Regions from separate parts of the Homo sapiens genome. Here all the other regions are linked to region 2. The links are contacts of gene promoters, found by promoter capture Hi-C in blood cells and fetal thymus (Javierre and others, 2016). All regions are on one chromosome and are shown on one strand. The core of a region is centred on a gene start or on the middle of the fragment in contact, and the rest is flanking DNA. Distances in the headings are between cores, read along the strand shown.

Region 1 (3,526 bases), core at 236-2,735, 90 kb after region 2:
AATGAGGTGTTCTGACTGGGGGGACATAGCAAACACTACTTGGACTTTCTTGGTTCAAAGTCATGCAATGCTTCCCTGTTATCATGCCCAGCATCAGGTAGGGTTTCCAAGGATTTCAGATGAATGGGTCTAGGACATTGTCCATTAGTTCTGTTGACTCTACTGCAATAAAAGGGAATGTGTGGCCAGGTATGGTGGCTCACGCCTGTAATCCCAGCACTTAGGGAGGCCAAGGCAGGCGAATTGCTTGAGCTCAGGAGTTTAAGACCAGCCTGGACAACACAGGGAGACCTCATCTCTACAAAAAATTTAAAAATTAGCCAGGCATAGTGGTGTCCACCTGTAGTCCCAGCTACTCGGGAGGCTGAGGCAGGAGCATTACTTGAGCCTTCGAGGAAGAGGTTGCAGTGAGCTGAGACTGTGCCATTGCACACCAGTCCCAGTCCCAGCCTGGGTGACAGAGCAAGACCCTGTCTCAAACACACACACACACACACACACACACACACACACACACACACATGAATGTGAAATAGAGCTTGTTCATGAGGGGATCTGAGGTCACCTCCCACTGTAAGGGAGAGGAACGAGCTCAGGACGTGGCTTCATGTGAGCTGGTTGTGCTCTGGACTTTGTGATTTTCCAGTTAGTTGACTGTGAGCTTGTCACCCTTCTACACATCTGCACCTACCTTGGATGCCAATACGGTAGGGTTTGGAATCCACCTTTGTGAACTGCACAAGGCAGGCTACCTATGGAAATATTAGCGCTGATTCCAGCAGCCGGGGCTTTTTCCTCCCACTGAATCTTTAGTGCTGGAAGGAGACTCCAGGGGTTGTGAGTTCTCACCTGTCTGCCTTGAGCCTGAAGCAACTGGGAGGGTAAGGGCATCCCAGAAGGACCCAGATCAACTCTGAGAACACAGAGTGAGCCACACAGGGTGAGAGACACTGGGTCACACTCTGCAGCCTGGGCCTTCTGTCCTGGGAGGTTTCCTATTTCGTTCCATATTCAAGGAGACCCATGATTATTTCCTGATTTCTAGGTGTAGATGCCATCTCTCCCTTGCCCCACTGAAATAGTTCATTTCAATATTTAATCCTGAGACTCATCCTGGTTTCTATGGTCACCGTGACCATGGTGAGACGCTGAGTGCCATGATACACTGTGTGCAGCTCCAATGCAGGGGACAGCCCATGAGGACACTGCATGCTTGATTGTCAGGAACTCATGGGGATCCTAAGGCCTATCGCACCCAGGCCCTTCACACTGGGGCTCGTCTGTGCTGGGGATTAGAGGTTGGGAGTTCTTCTACAGGGGCCCAGGTGACAATTCCTAGCCCAGAAGCAGCCCTCTCTGCCCAGAACTCACCTGCATAGCAGTGCAGGAGGAGGGCCGCCAGCATGAGGACCATCAGCAGCTTCATGGCGAGGCGGCTGCTGTCTGTGTTCAGTCGTGCGTGGCAGGGATCAAGGAAGTTGCTGTGGAGGTGAGTACCCAGCCCTGCTCTATTTATTCCCCAGGGAGGCACCTTAGTCCCTCCCAGGAATGAGGCAATGTGTCAACCTGGCATGGGACCAGGACACAATAGTGTACACCAATGGGAACACAGCCAGCCTGTGCTCTGTTTGTAGAAACCAAGAAGGCAGTAATATTTGGATCCCTGACAATCTGGGGACTACAATAATGATACATGGCTTTTAGTAAAATGGATGTGACAGTGTTTTCCAAAATATAAAGCAAAACCCAGTGGCGTGATCTTGTGGTCTCAACAATGTTGTTATTATTGTAGTTTTCTTCTAGTCCTCCTTCCCTTCTTCCTCCTCCTCCTTCTATTCTTTTTCTTCTATTCCTCTTGGTCTCCTCCTCTTCTCGTTATTCTTCAAGGTACAAACAGTTTCATAACTTGTGTATCTGCCGGTCCTGGAATCATCAAATATTTGGGCTATGTGCAATACCTGCATCTTCCTATGGGAGGCAGACCTTCCTAATCCATAGACATTTCTTTTTCAGAAAAGCGGGTTTTTTTGTTTTTGTTTTTTGGGGTTTTGTTGCTGTTGTTGTTGTTGTTTTGAGACAGAGTCTCACTCTATTGCCCAGGCTGGAGTGCAGTGGTGCGATCTTGGCTCACTGCAGCCTCCGCCTCCCGGGTTCCAGAAATTCTCCTGCCTCAGCCTCCTGGGTAGCTGGGATTACAGGCATGCGCCAGGACACCTGGCTAATTTTTGTATTTTTAGTAGAGACAGGGTTTCACCATTTTGGCCAGGCTGGTCTCGAACTTCTGACCTCAGGAGATCCACCTCACTCAGCCTCCCAAAGTGCTGGGATTACAGGCGTGAGCCACCATGCCCAGCCCCGAAAAGTGCTTTAAGTTTTGGGGAAAACATTAATATCTAACCTCTACTGAAAGCTTCTTGTTATTCTTGTTAAGAATTACAACACTAAGTTAATTCAACTTTACAAATTTATTTTACAATATATTTATAATTTAATTTGTGCTTAGTTCTTTGTTAGCCTTTTACGGTTTTCTATCCACTGACTGAGAGGATGCTGTGAGTGAGTGGAGTAACTGACTGCTTGGGCAGGCAGTGCTAGGCAGTGGGTGGCAATGGGGTTGGGTGATGATGAGATTTAGGTGATAAGATTTGGGCAGGTGTGGGTGTGGATCCTGGAGGCCACACGTACTCATGCTGTGTCTTTGGGCAAATTACAATGCTGGTCCCTCTGGGCTTCCTTTCTGTCTTTGTGAAACGGGTATAAGTGATGCTGAATTTTTTTTTTTTTCGAGACAGAGTCTTGCCCTGTTGCCCAGGCTGGAGTTCAGTGGCACGATCTTGGCTCACTGCAACCTCCGCCTCCCGAGTTCAAGCGATTCTCCTGCCTCAACCTTCTGAGTAGCTGGGATTACAGGCATGTGGCACGAGGCCCGGCTAATTTTCGTATTTTTAGTAGAGACGGAGTTTCTCCATGTTGGCCAGGCTGGTCTCGAACTCCTGACCTCAGGTGATCCACCCACCTCGGCCTCCCAAAGTGCTGAGATTACAGGTGTGAGCCACCGTGCCCGCCTGGCCGTGAATTTTTGTAAAGATGAGAGATACTCTGTAAATTTTTTTTTTTGAGATGGAGTCTCACTCTTATTGCCCAGGCTGGAGTGCAGTGGCGTGATCTCAACTCACTGCAACCTCAGCCTTCCCGGGTTCAAGCGATTATCCTGCCTCAGTCTCCTGAGTAGCTGGGATTACAGGTGTGCACCACCACGCCCAGCTAATTTTTATTTATTTATTTATTTATTTATTTATTTATTTATTTATTTATTTTGTATTTTTAGTAGAGATGGGGGTTTCACCATGTTGGCCAGGCTGGTCTCAAACTCCTGACCTCGTGATCCACCCACCTTGGCCTCCCAAAGTGCTGGGATTATAGGTTTGAGCCACCGCTCCCGGCCGACGCTCTGTAAATTTTTAATCACGCAGCCAAGCATGAGATAATTCTGAATAAATGGCAGTTGCATTCATGCGTGGATCCC
Region 2 (3,444 bases), core at 333-2,832:
CACACACCCATGAACACACTCATTTGATCATCTATCAACCCAATGATGTAGGCACCATTAGTAGCCTACTTTGACAAATGAGAAAACTGGGGTTACATAAACTGAATAATTTTCCTAAGGTCCAGGAGCCCATAAATGAGGATCTGAACCCTCATAGCTGTAAACCTCACCACCAACCCTCCCCCTCCTTGGTGGCAGCAGGGCTGATTCAGGGACTCCGTCGTCATCCTGTGTGATGAAAGTGAGATCCACTGTTGCCCTCAGCTTGGACTCAACTAAATCTGTCAATGTGTCTTTGATGACAAAACCCGTAAGGTCCCCTTCCTTCTTAAAGGTTTTCCTGGCTGGATCTCAGCCCTGCTGTCTGTGAGAAACACCAGAGCAGTTTAAACAGTACAGAAAGGAGGGATTCACCCCAATGCTACTGAATCAAAATCGCCAGAGAGAGAAGCCTGTGGGGTCAGTATGTTTTAAAAGCTCCAAGTGATTTGACTACATAGCTGAGAATGGAAAGCTATGGCCTGGGCTGTGACTCCTCTCAAATGTAAGTTTATTTAAGAGAAAAATTTCTGGTGATTAAACTCACACCACATGAAGGCACGGCAATGGGAGGGAAGGCGGGTGTGTATTGCTTTGTCTGGGGGCTTCCTTCACTTTCCCTTAAAAATGGGATTGGCCCAGGCAGCACAGATAGGTTTGAAGTGGAAAACTTGAGCCTAGGGGTTAGGGGGAAGTGACCACCCACCCTGTTCCTCTGTCTCTTCCCTTCTATTATCTTCCCAGCCTAGAGCCCCACTGATGTATGATTGGCTCTGAACACTCCAAAAGCTCTTGAGAAAAAGAGTTAGGTTATTTAATCTTCAGATCAGCCCTAAGATAAGACGTGGGTGGCTACACATCACAGAAAGCTTGCTTTTTATAGATAGAAAATGTGAATCTTGGCCATATATATAACTGCACGTATAAACAAGATTCAGGTTTGGGAGTGAGGCAGGCTAGAGAACAGGTGCAGCAGATGTTTTTCCTCAGCATATCTTCTACAGGTGGGATGTATTCAACTATGTTTTCAGTACCTATGCAGTGAACATGGTGGTGATGGAAGGGGCTGAGGGGAAGGATTAGACTTTCCCAATGTGCAACTGAAACAAGCCTGCTTGTTGTCAGACATGCAGGGGGATCAAAGCAGGGTCTCCTTATGTCCCTGCTCTCCCATAAAGAGAACACAGCCTTCCAGCTTCCTGTGCCTTGTGAAGCCATAATTCACCTGTGCCCCTGCACTGCTACAAAGATAAAAAGAACTAATCAGCAAAAGCTCATAAGGAAATTGAGGATCCCAGGAACATTTCCAGATGTACCTGAACACTCACCTGGAGCACAGAGCAGAGTTCTCACAAGGCTGCTGTCTTGTGCTCCGCCCCACTCAGATGCAGAGATTCCTAAGGAGGTGACATTGATGGACGGCAGCAGCCCTGGCTTGGAAGGGCGGGCTGGGAGCCAGGCCTCATGACCTACCAGGTGCCCCGGTAGGTAGGACCAGCCAGGCTCCCTAGGTACAAATAGCCCTGGCCTCCATGACTACACAGGCTCCTGGAGTCGAATCCAAATCACTCATTGTGAAAGCTGAGCTCACAGCCGAATAAGCCACCATGAGGCTGTCAGTGTGTCTCCTGATGGTCTCGCTGGCCCTTTGCTGCTACCAGGGTGAGTACATCAGTCATGAGTCCAGCACCAGCCCCTGGGATGCACCCTCTTCTGAGCACAAGATCACCTATTTGTGCTTTGGGTTGGGGTCTGCACAAAACCAAACAAAATTCCAAACCCTTTTCTGTGCTTGTTGAATAAGATTCATAAAGGTTAGAGCTATTTCTTCTTTCTTCTTCCTTTTTTTTTTTTTTTTTTTGAGAAGTTTTGCTCTTGTTGCCCAGGCTGGAGTGCAGTGGCATGATCTTGGCTCACTGCAACCTCTGCCTCCGGGGTTCAAGTGATTCTCCTGCCTCAGCCTTCCTGAGCAGCTGGGATTACAGGCATGGGCCACCACAGCTGGCTAATTTTGTATTTTTAGTAGAGATGGGGTTTCTCCATGTTGGTCAGGCTGGTCTCGAACTCCCGACCTCAGATGATCTGCCCGCCTCGGCCTCCTAAAGTGCTGGGATAACAGGCATGAGCTACTGCGCCTGGCTGCTTAGAGCTATTTCTTCTAATCCCCAGTATCTAAGAAGTTTTATAGAAAAATCAGTTCAGGCAAATGTTAGGAATTCTTCTGCCTGAGCTTCACTTCTGAATGGGATCTGTGTCAGATGATGTAATGTGAGGTCTGGGGTGAACCTGGGCTTCGACACTTCCCACCCCTTGATCTTGGGCACAATGCTCACCCTCCTTGAGCCTCCTCTTATCACTGGTGGTTAAAGCTTCTGCCAGGAGTGGCTATGAGAATGAAGTAAGGTTATGGTTGTCAAGAGTCAAGCTGTGGGCCAGGCATGGTGTCTCATTCCTGTAATCTTAGCACTTTGGGAGGCCACAGTGGGCAGATCACTTGAGCTCAGGAGTTCAGCACCAGCCTGGGCAACATGGCGAAACCCCATCTCTACAAAAAAAAAAAACAAAACAAAACACACACACACACACACACACACACACACACACACAAAAGCGGGCATGGTGGCAGGCACTGGTAGTCTCAGCTACTTTGGGGGCTGAGGGAGGATCGCTTGAGCCCAAGACATTCAGGCTGCAGTGAGCCGAGATTGTGCCACTGCATTCCAGTCTGGGTGAACCTATCTCAAAAAAAAGAAAAAGAAGTCTAGCTGAGGATATGAAGCTCTTCCCTTTGTTGTGTGACCCGGAGAAAGTCACACCTGGAGTTTCTGGTATTGTCATCAGCACAATAATGGTATAGAAACATAGAACCCAGGGGATCCTGTCTGGTGTAACCTCAGGGAGCCATGAGAGAAAAATCGACTTTCCTAACATCAACAATATTTTTATTTTTGTGCTGCAGCCCATGCTCTTGTCTGCCCAGCTGTTGCTTCTGAGATCACAGTCTTCTTATTCTTAAGTGACGCTGCGGTAAACCTCCAAGTTGCCAAACTTAATCCACCTCCAGAAGCTCTTGCAGCCAAGTTGGAAGTGAAGCACTGCACCGATCAGATATCTTTTAAGAAACGACTCTCATTGAAAAAGTCCTGGTAATTTCTTTCTCCTTTATGCAGAGGCAGAATTCAACTCAGCTGCACACAGCCTCCTGCATGTTTCTTGTCAGGTCACCTGCCTGGATGCTGTGTCCCCAGAGTGTGCTGAGGACATGGGGAGTGAGCTAGGGCCAAGGCAGGGATGGTGAAGGGCCAAGCACGGCCGCCTCCCTGCTGGGATCTTTCCTGAGGTCAACCTACCCTCACGCAGTGGACACGGTCACTATGGGATGTCCCAGGGAGTGTGGGAGATTTG
Region 3 (3,082 bases), core at 246-2,745, 110 kb after region 2:
TTGGACATTGGTGAAGAGGAGGCTTTGAGTAATCAAATTTTGAAGTGGAATGGTAGAGTCAGAATCCTATCAGAAATTAGAGAAATGAGTAAATCTGGAACAGAAGAAGTTAAAATTATTGAAATGTTGAAGGTGATGTTTTGAGAACAAGTTGTAGAATTTAGGCTTATGTGATTCAATACAGACAGAGCTAAAAGGTAAACAAATTAAAACAAAATAAAATAATGTGAATCAGTTTTAACACACATTAGAAGCTTATACAGGAAATTGTACTTGGCCCATATTCTGCAGCAGCATCTAGAATATTTGGAGAGGATGAGAGGAGGGAACTGAGGCTCATTCCTGCTCCCACTGGGAATTTTGGAAAGACCTGGAGTAATCATTTTGCTTGGTCTGGAATCTCCATTCACCTAAGTCTTTTGCAAACACCATGCATCCAGAAAGCGCCCCACCATGCTCAACATGACCCCTGACTACCCGACTTCAAACTGTGGGGAGAATTTGGAGAGGGTAGGATCGGGGTGTCACAGGGAAACAGGGAGAGGTTCAGAAAAGAAGAGGAAAGAGAAAAATCAGAGTCTGGATCGGTCCTGACAGGGGAAAGGAAAGTACCCAAATGAACTGGGGAAAAATCAGCCAGAATTAATTTTAGAAAAATAGAAGTTCTGAGGCTAACCATTGTAGTATTTCTACCACCATTACGGTAGGACCCCTAGAAGATATATTGAGTGCTGCTTATTCTAAGAATTCATTTGCAGGCTTCTTATTGAGAGAATCAGAAAGCACCATCTCTTCTTGGACTGAGAGTTCTCCAAGGATCCTTCGAGATGTAACATTTTATGAGTCTGAATTTACAATGTAAGAAGCTGTGAGCTCAATTGGCACCTAAAGGTCTGGGGACGAGAATGTCTGACAGTACAGTGATTGGCTTCACATCCACAGCTAGACCCTTGGCACAATAATCCCACTCCATTCCCATTGCCACTCCCGGAAGAAGCTCTAAGCACCAGAGATAGGAGGAGGCGCGGGGAGGGTGAGCATCTTGCCCACGGTGAAAGGGCTGAGAAGTGGCTGAGCCCAGAGTCACCCCAGACCTCACATTACATCATCTGACACAGATCCCATCCAAGAGTGAAGCTCAGGCAGAATTCCTAACGTTCGCCTGCATTGATTTTCTGCAAAACTTCCTAGGTACTGGGGATTTGATGAAATGAGGCCCGAGCTTTATGAGCAGTTCCTTCAACAAGCACAGGATAAGGTTTGGAATTTTGGTTTGTTCCAGACCCCAACCTTAACCTTAATAGGTGACCTCGTGCTCAGAGAAGGGTGTGTCCCAAGGGCTGGTGCTGGACTCATGACTGATGTACTCACCCCGGTAGCAGCAAAGGGCCAGCGTGAGCAGCAGGAGACACACCGACAGCCTCATGGTGGCTTATTCTGCTGTGAGCTCGGCTTTAACCAATGATGAGTGATTTAGACTCAGCCCCGGGAGCCTGTGGAGCCGTGGAGCCCAGGGCTATTTGTACCTAGGGAGCCTGGCTGGTCCTGCCCACATGGGCATCTGGCAGGTGATGAGGCCTGGCTTCCAGCCCTCCCTTCCTAGCCAGGGCTGCTGCCATCCATCAGTGTCACATCCCCACACCTCCCTGCATCCTGAGTGGGGCGGAGCACGGGAGGGCAGCCCTGCAGAAACTCTGCTCTGTGCTCCAGGTGAGTGTCCAGGTGCCTCTGGCAATGTTCCCTGGAACCTCAGTTTGCTTTTGGGCTTTTGAGGATTATCTCTCTGTTCTTTATGTCAGTGCAAGGGCAAATGTGAGTTCTCATTTCAGGAGGACAGAAACCGGGGGTGCAGGAAGCTAGGGGCTGTGGTTTGGTTATAGGAGAGCAGGCACAGAAGAGACCCCACTTTGACCTCCACTGCATGTCTGACAATCAGCCACACGTGTTTCAGCTGCACATAGATCAAGTCTGAACCAGACCTATCCTCCCACTCAGCCCCTTCCATCCCCACCATCTTCACCACATAGGTACCTAAAACATAGCTGCATACACCCCACCTTTGGAGGATTTCCTTGGGGAAAACAACCACTCCCCCTGTCCTCTACTCTGTCTCACTCCAAGATCTGTGTCTTTATTTATGGGTGGAGTTGTCAACATAGCACAGGTTCAAATTTTCTGTCTACTAAAAGCAAGCCTCCAGTGACCTCTAGCCACCCATATCTCCTCATAGGGCTGATGGGATGATTAAATTGCCCAACTTTTTTTACCCAAGGAGCTGCTGGGGTGTCTGGAGGCAAACAGGCATCAGAAATACTGGTCTTCGCTTCTAGGCAGGGACGATAATGGAAAGGAAGAGATGGATGAACAGGGTGGGTGGTCACTTCCCTCTAACCTCTGGGCTCAAGTTTTCCACTTCTAACCCAGCTCTGCTGCCTGGGTCATCTCATTGTTGATGGAAAGCGAAGGCCATCCCCAGCAAAAGCAATAGACACCCTTCTGCCCTTCCACTGCAGTGCCATCATTTGGTGAGTAGGAAATCACCAGAAATTTGGCTCTTAAGTGAACACACATTTGAGAACAGTCACAGCCCAGGCCAGAGCTTTCCATTCTCTGCTCTGCAATCAAATCACTTGGGGCTCTTAAACTATACTGACTCCCCGCAGGCTGCTTCCCTTTCTGGGGATTTTGATTCAGTAGTTCTAGGGCGAGGTCCTCTTCTGTTTAAACTGCTCTGGTGGGTCTGATGGGCAGCAGTACTGAGAACCACCCAGAAAGACCTTTATGAAGGAAGCGGACCTTATGGTCTGTGTCATCAGAGACACCTTGGCAGGTCTGGCTGAGTCCCAGCTGAGGGCGACAATGCCTCTCACTTCCATCACCCAAAATGGTGGGGAAGCCCCTGATGCCACCTCTGCCTCCAACCCTAAGGAGTGGAAGGTCCAGTGGCAAAGCCCATGGCTAGGAGGGTTCAGATCCATGTCTATGGGCTATTGAACCCTCTGAAAATTAGTTTATGTAAACACAGTTTTCTCGTTTGTAAAAGTAGGTTAAAAATGGTGCCTACATCATTGGGTTGATAGAT

What was found. Contacts are between HindIII fragments. The CHiCAGO score rates a contact against its expected background, and 5 or more counts as called.
Region 1: a contact is called between the fragment with the promoter of SCGB2A1 here and the fragment with the promoter of SCGB1D4 in region 2, in 12 of 17 cell types (endothelial precursors, M2 macrophages, M1 macrophages and 9 more). The highest score is 15.5, in endothelial precursors.
Region 3: the fragment with the promoter of SCGB1D1 here is called in contact with the fragment with the promoter of SCGB1D4 in region 2 in 5 of 17 cell types (M1 macrophages, endothelial precursors, M0 macrophages and 2 more); the score reaches 11.6 in M1 macrophages.

Annotation. Positions count from the first base shown.
Region 1 is chr11:62,206,632-62,210,157 of GRCh38, reverse strand. It overlaps SCGB2A1 (secretoglobin family 2A member 1), which reads right to left and starts at 1,485. Exons shown (of 3, transcript NM_002407.3): 1 at 1,372-1,485. The coding sequence starts at 1,426. The HindIII fragment of the contact is 6,226 bases long and covers 1-2,412 here.
Region 2 is chr11:62,297,213-62,300,656 of GRCh38, reverse strand. It overlaps SCGB1D4 (secretoglobin family 1D member 4), which reads left to right and starts at 1,582. Exons shown (of 3, transcript NM_206998.2): 1 at 1,582-1,701; 2 at 2,999-3,185. The coding sequence starts at 1,647. The HindIII fragment of the contact is 1,500 bases long and covers 911-2,410 here.
Region 3 is chr11:62,188,629-62,191,710 of GRCh38, reverse strand. It overlaps SCGB1D1 (secretoglobin family 1D member 1), which reads right to left and starts at 1,495. Exons shown (of 3, transcript NM_006552.2): 1 at 1,372-1,495. The coding sequence starts at 1,426. The HindIII fragment of the contact is 8,999 bases long and covers 257-3,082 here.